Regions from separate parts of the Homo sapiens genome. Here region 2 is linked to region 1. Evidence: promoter capture Hi-C in human tissues and cell types (Jung and others, 2019). All regions are on one chromosome and are shown on one strand. Each heading gives the region's core, a stretch centred on a gene start or on the middle of the fragment in contact. The rest is flanking DNA. Distances are from core to core; before and after follow the strand shown. Region 1 holds the start of PDZRN4 (PDZ domain containing ring finger 4). Region 2 has its middle 37 kb from the start of PDZRN4.

Region 1 (2,700 bases), core at 123-2,622:
CATCTCTCAACTCCTGAGGCTGTCCTGGCCCCAACGTGCCTCACAGTCCCCAACTTAATAGAAGGCAGTTGATTCAGGCAGTGGCAGCGCAAGTGTCATCAACGCTGACACCAGTCCCAGGTGTGCGTGCGCGGCTGCCAGGGCCGCGGGGATGCTGGTGGCCGCGGGAGAGGAAAGGCTGGGCCGGGAAAGTCTTCGCTTTCTGTCTTTCCTTCTCGGATTTGCTTCAGGCACGGGACAAGTGCTCAAAAAATAGGCAGAGACGGTGGGCAGGAGGGTGAAAGATGGAAAACGAGAGTCTGGATGGAAAATGAGTTTTCACAATTCCTACTTTCCCGGGGGAAAGTTAGAATCGAATCTGTTTAACTCTTTCCAATCGTAATATAATCAGAAAAGGGACAATCCTTAACTTCGACGCCAATCCATTCGTAAGATAATGACAGGAAAGTATGATCAGGGTGTGGATGTTTCCTGCTGCATAGTGAGGAAGGATGCCCAATTCCAAAGGAATCCTGAAGCGTCAGAAAGAACCGCTCCTTTTCCCACCCCAATCGACCATGCCCGCGGTGCCCACCCCCCTTTGCTTACCCTGCGGTGGCCGCCACCGAGGTCGCCGACGAAGTTGCGGACGTGAGCCATGTATTGGGTGAACTTCTCCTGGTACCTGCGCGCCGTGAGCTGCACCTCGCCCTGCAGCGCCCAGAGCTGCGCCAGCAGCGCCTTCTCGCGCCGCCTCCAGGCGAGGACCCGAGGCCCGGGTCCCCGCCCGCGGCCCCAGCGGCCGCCCGGCGGCCCCCCGCGCGCGCCCCCGCCCCGGCCAGCCCTGGGTGTCGGACCGCAGCCCCCCCGCGCGGGCACCTCACCACCGCCCAGCCCCGAAGCGCAGCCCCCGCGGCTGCGGAGCCGGCGGGCAGGGCCGAAGTCGCAGTGCTCGACGTGCGCCTCCAGCTCGTGCAGCCTGACCGAGTGGCCGCAGCCGCGGGCGCGGTAGTCGCACTGGACTCGCAGCTTCTGGATGAGGCTGCGCAGCGGCAGCACCCGGTACAGCTCGCCGGGCGCCAAGGGCTGGCACTGCAGCGGGCACCGGCGCCTCCGCACCGCCCAGGGCAACAGGCAGCTGGCGCAGAAGACGTGCCCGCACGGCGTGCACAGGGGCTCTTCAAGCACCTGGCCGCACAGTTTGCACTCCAGAGCCGGGTCCACGGCTTCTGCGAAGCGCTCCAGGGCAAAGCCCATGTTAGGGATGGGGAAGAAAGGGGGAGCGAAAGCAGAGTCCGTCTTCTCCGAGCCCCCCTGCCTTCCCCGGGCCACCCCCGGGGCAGCCGTCTCGCGGCGGCGGCAGTGGAGGGAGGTGGCGGGTGGGAGGTGTGATCTCACTGTTTGTTTGGCTTGAAGTTTTCAGGCTCCTGCTAGGTCCCCTGATTTCGCCCGTATTGACGCTAATAGAAGTAACCTCCAGAGACCCCCGCCTCCTTCGTTGCCCTGCGATTTATGTTCTTTCAAATTTTGGCCGCCCAGCTTACAATGGTCCTTGGGAACACTGTGTTCTCCTTCGCCTGAACAGTGAACTTCAAGCATCGAGGCGCCTCGCCCTGGGCAGGGCTGCTGATGGGTAAAGCGCTAATGTTGAGAAACAACTTTTAAATTCACCACAATGTAAGCTTCGGGAGAGCAGAATCTTTTTGTCTGTCTGGTTTTCCGCTGAATGCCCATGGCCCGCCCGGCGTCGAGTCTATCTCCAATATGTTTGAAATCGAAGCACTTTTGTTCTTTCACATCAAAACTACAAAATCAGAAGTTAGGAAACTGTGACCTTAGGAAATCACTATAAGGAAAATAACACTAGGAAATCCACAGGGCCAGGCTTCTCAAACCGTGATCCAGAAATCAGGTGAGTTAGAATGGCGCGATCCTTGACCTAGCAGCAAAGATGGGGAAAAAGTCAAGGGCCCGCCTCAGGACACTGCCTTCTTAGGGAGCCCATGAACAGCCATGCAAGGCCTCCTCCCGAGTGAGGAAGCTGGGATTCTGAGTCTGACTCCAGGTTCAGTTGCCACAGCATCCATCTTCTACTTCCACGGGCGTTTTACTACTGGGGACGGGAATGTGATCATTTGGGAACCTGGAAGGGAAAATTAAAGGGAAGGATGATGAAAGAAAGCAGTGAAATAACATATAAATAAAATCTTAGTGGCTGCTTCCTTCTACTTACCCTGAATGAACCCTTTGGATCCAAATTGCCTCCCCTCCTAGTTTGACTCCTCAAATTGTGTAGCATGACAAGCCGTCCTGAAAACACGCAGTAGGGCGTCATTCCAAACCCTTCTTACTCCACTTCCTTTACCATCTTCTGAACCTTAGGAATGCAGAGATCCTGTCACCTGGCTGCATATCACTTACTGCCATTATCCTGAAGCTGCCACCAGATGCTTGGGTGGGTTTTATAAATTAATCATTGATGATTCCTTGCTGCCAGTTGAGCCTTGTTCCTGGAAAGCTTGTAATTCTCTATGACACCAAATGGCATCAGTTGGAATTGATGAGAACAGCTCCAGACTTTGTCTTTTAAATCCTTGGAGCTAACTGAAGAATTAGCAAAGACTAATAATAGAGGCTAATAACCTTCTGAGCCTTCTTGCTGTTTGAAAGATGAGATTTTGTTAGTTGTTCAATAACCAGTGATGATTGGTGTGCTAGATG
Region 2 (2,700 bases), core at 96-2,595, 37 kb after region 1:
GAGAGAGTTTGCATGTTACCTAGAACATTCTGAAAGTGCTCACCAATCTTATTCTTTCAAAAGGAAAAAAAAATCATTGCTTTGGTGGCTATTGTGACATATCATAATAGAGAAAAAAATCTTCAAAAAATTATCATTTTTCTCCTGTTAAAAAAGTAAAGCTAACCATGAACAAAGAAGACTGGATGTTTGGTATTCCATAAGTGAATAATGCACATTTTCATGGGATTCTTCCACACCATGATGTAGCACGAAAGATGACTAATTCAGTTGTCAGAACACAGCAGCTCATCAACGTTAAAAGAGCTTAGGACATCACAAGTTTGTTTTGCTGTAATACTTATGTAAGTAGCCAAACATTACTCATTCTCCCTGCTAACCTGTGTTCAACTTGTTCTTTCGTATTCATCACTAACCCAAATATGCTAACTTGAAAAGTTAGAAAAGAAATTTTTAAAAAGTCAAGATATTTAAAGGAAAACTATGCCTTAAGTTCAGTGAAATATATGAAACCATACAGTGGCTAAAAACAAATACCAAAATTGGAGTCAATTTATTTAATAATAATAAAATAATGAAGTGATAAAAATGGAATAAATAACAAAATACATGATTAAATATATTGATATTTTATTTAAACAAAATATTTCAATAAAATTAGAGCTTCAGAAAAAAAAAAACAAAGAAGATGGGCTTATCTAAGAAATAATACAAGAAATATTCTTAGAATAGACACATGTGAGTCTCTAAACTAGAAGAGATCATTGAATTTTTGACCAATGAATGGAAGATGACATCAGGCACATCATTAGGAATATTGGAAACTAAGGGGAAAACAAGAACCCTAAAATCTTCTGGGGAGTGGGGAATAAAAGCTGGTAACCTAGATAAGATTGAGAATCAGCATGACCTTGGGTTCCTCATCAATGTTGGAAGCTTAAAGGCCATAGAGTAATGATTTCAAAATCCTGTTGGAAAGTTATTTCTGAGCTTCAAATCTGTAGCCAGACATTATTAAACACATATGAGAATAAAGACATTTCAGGCACTCACATTTCACAAATAATTTGTCTTCCATATACACATGCTTTGGAAACTATTATCAGGATATATTCCACCAAAATGAGGGAGTGAATAAAGAGAACAACTTGGACATTAAATGTTGGAGCAAAGAAAACTGGAATCATCATAAAAGAGCCCAGGGAGATCTCACGTCGGTAGCTGAGTTGCAGGCCTAGAAAACAGCAGTATATTTGGAAGACCAGCAGGAATGTCTTTATTGAAAACAACAACAAACTGGAATGAAAAGTTTATTTAACGTGTGACCATGTAGAATGTAGTGTTCAGAAGGGTTCAGAGTTCTGCCTGAGTATTTGAAAGAACTGGTAACAAAGGAATAAATGATAACTAATAAATAATGACCATTATTAATTCCAGAAGAAAATATGTTGCACAAGAAAGAAAATATGTATCTCTTGATTTGTCAATGAATGACATTAGCATAATGATAAAAAGGTAATTTCTGAATATTAAGAACTAAAATGTTTAGAAAAATGAAAGAACAAAAAATTAAGAGAAATGGGAAAATATTAAGTTCATGTATTCCATATTAGAAGGTCAGTAGATAATATCTTAGAGAATATTAGATAAATATCTTAAATTTTAGAGGAAATGCAAGAAAAAATAGCTAGAGATGAAAAAGATTGCTTCTAGGGTATGAGTTTGGATGATGGAGTTACAGGGGTTCCTGTTATTAGCTGTAAGCTTAACAGCAATATTTTATTTTTAAATTAATAACATGTTATTTTGATACAAAAAAACTAATAAAAATTGATATAGAAGCCACTACATATTTATAAACAGGAAACTGTTGTGTTGTGGCTTATGTTTTCAATGTCAATAATATATTAAATGAAAAAGAAACAAGATATAAAATGTATAGGAAGATCTCTTCAAGGATGTATACAATCTGTACTTAACAGCAATTAACTCTGGCTGGCAGAATGTTGAGTGATTTTTAAATGAGTGTAGACTGGGCACAGTGGCTCACACCTGTAATCCCAGCAATTTGGGATGCCAAGGGGGGTGGATCACCTGAGGTCAGGAGTTCAAGACTAGCGTGGCCAACATGAAAAAACCCAGCCTCTACTAAAATACAAAATACAAAAATTAGCCAATCATGGTAGCAGGCACCTGTAATCCCAGCTCTTTGGGAGGCTGAGGCATGAGAATCGCTTGAACCCGGAAGGTGGAGGTTGCAGTGATCCAAGATTGTGCCACTGCACTCCAGCCTGGGCGACAGAGGGAGATTCTGTCTCAAAATAAATAAATAAATTAAATAAATAAAAATGATGAGTGCATTTTATTATTTTTCTATAACTAACTTGTATTACTTGTCTAATGCCTGGAAAAATAAAATGCTTGGACGTCAGGGACGCTCAGGCAGGAGCTAACCAGATAAAGCTTAAGCTTGAGGGCCTCTCACTAGCACAAGGCAATGCATTTCATGTTCTGTTGTCTTTTGCTCTCCCCCTACCTATTGTGTAAGCTTAGGTCCCACAAAACCTAGATCTGCCTTAGACTTAGGTTCAGATTTTACCCCTGCTACTTACTATGGTGTGATCTTAGGGAAGTTACTTATAATTTAGGCAACTACTCTATAATGTCCTTATTTGGAAAGTGAAGATACTGTAATTTCAA

What was found. The method cuts DNA at HindIII sites, captures the fragments that hold promoters and counts their contacts. A contact is called where the count stands out against the background at its distance.
Region 2: a contact is called between a fragment that was not itself captured here and the fragment with the promoter of PDZRN4 in region 1, in 4 of the 25 tissues and cell types used here (H1 embryonic stem cells, aorta, hippocampus and 1 more).

Annotation. Positions count from the first base shown.
Region 1 is chr12:41,186,992-41,189,691 of GRCh38, reverse strand. It overlaps PDZRN4 (PDZ domain containing ring finger 4), which reads right to left and starts at 1,372. Exons shown (of 10, transcript NM_001164595.2): 1 at 589-1,372. The coding sequence starts at 1,236. LOC124903069 (a long non-coding RNA gene) reads left to right here and starts at 1,460. Exons shown (of 2, transcript XR_007063563.1): 1 at 1,460-1,891; 2 at 2,362-2,700. The HindIII fragment of the contact is 4,288 bases long and covers 1-2,079 here.
Region 2 is chr12:41,149,607-41,152,306 of GRCh38, reverse strand. No RefSeq gene overlaps it. Among named protein-coding and RNA genes, the nearest start is that of PDZRN4, 37 kb to the left of the region's middle. The HindIII fragment of the contact is 3,870 bases long and covers 1-2,700 here.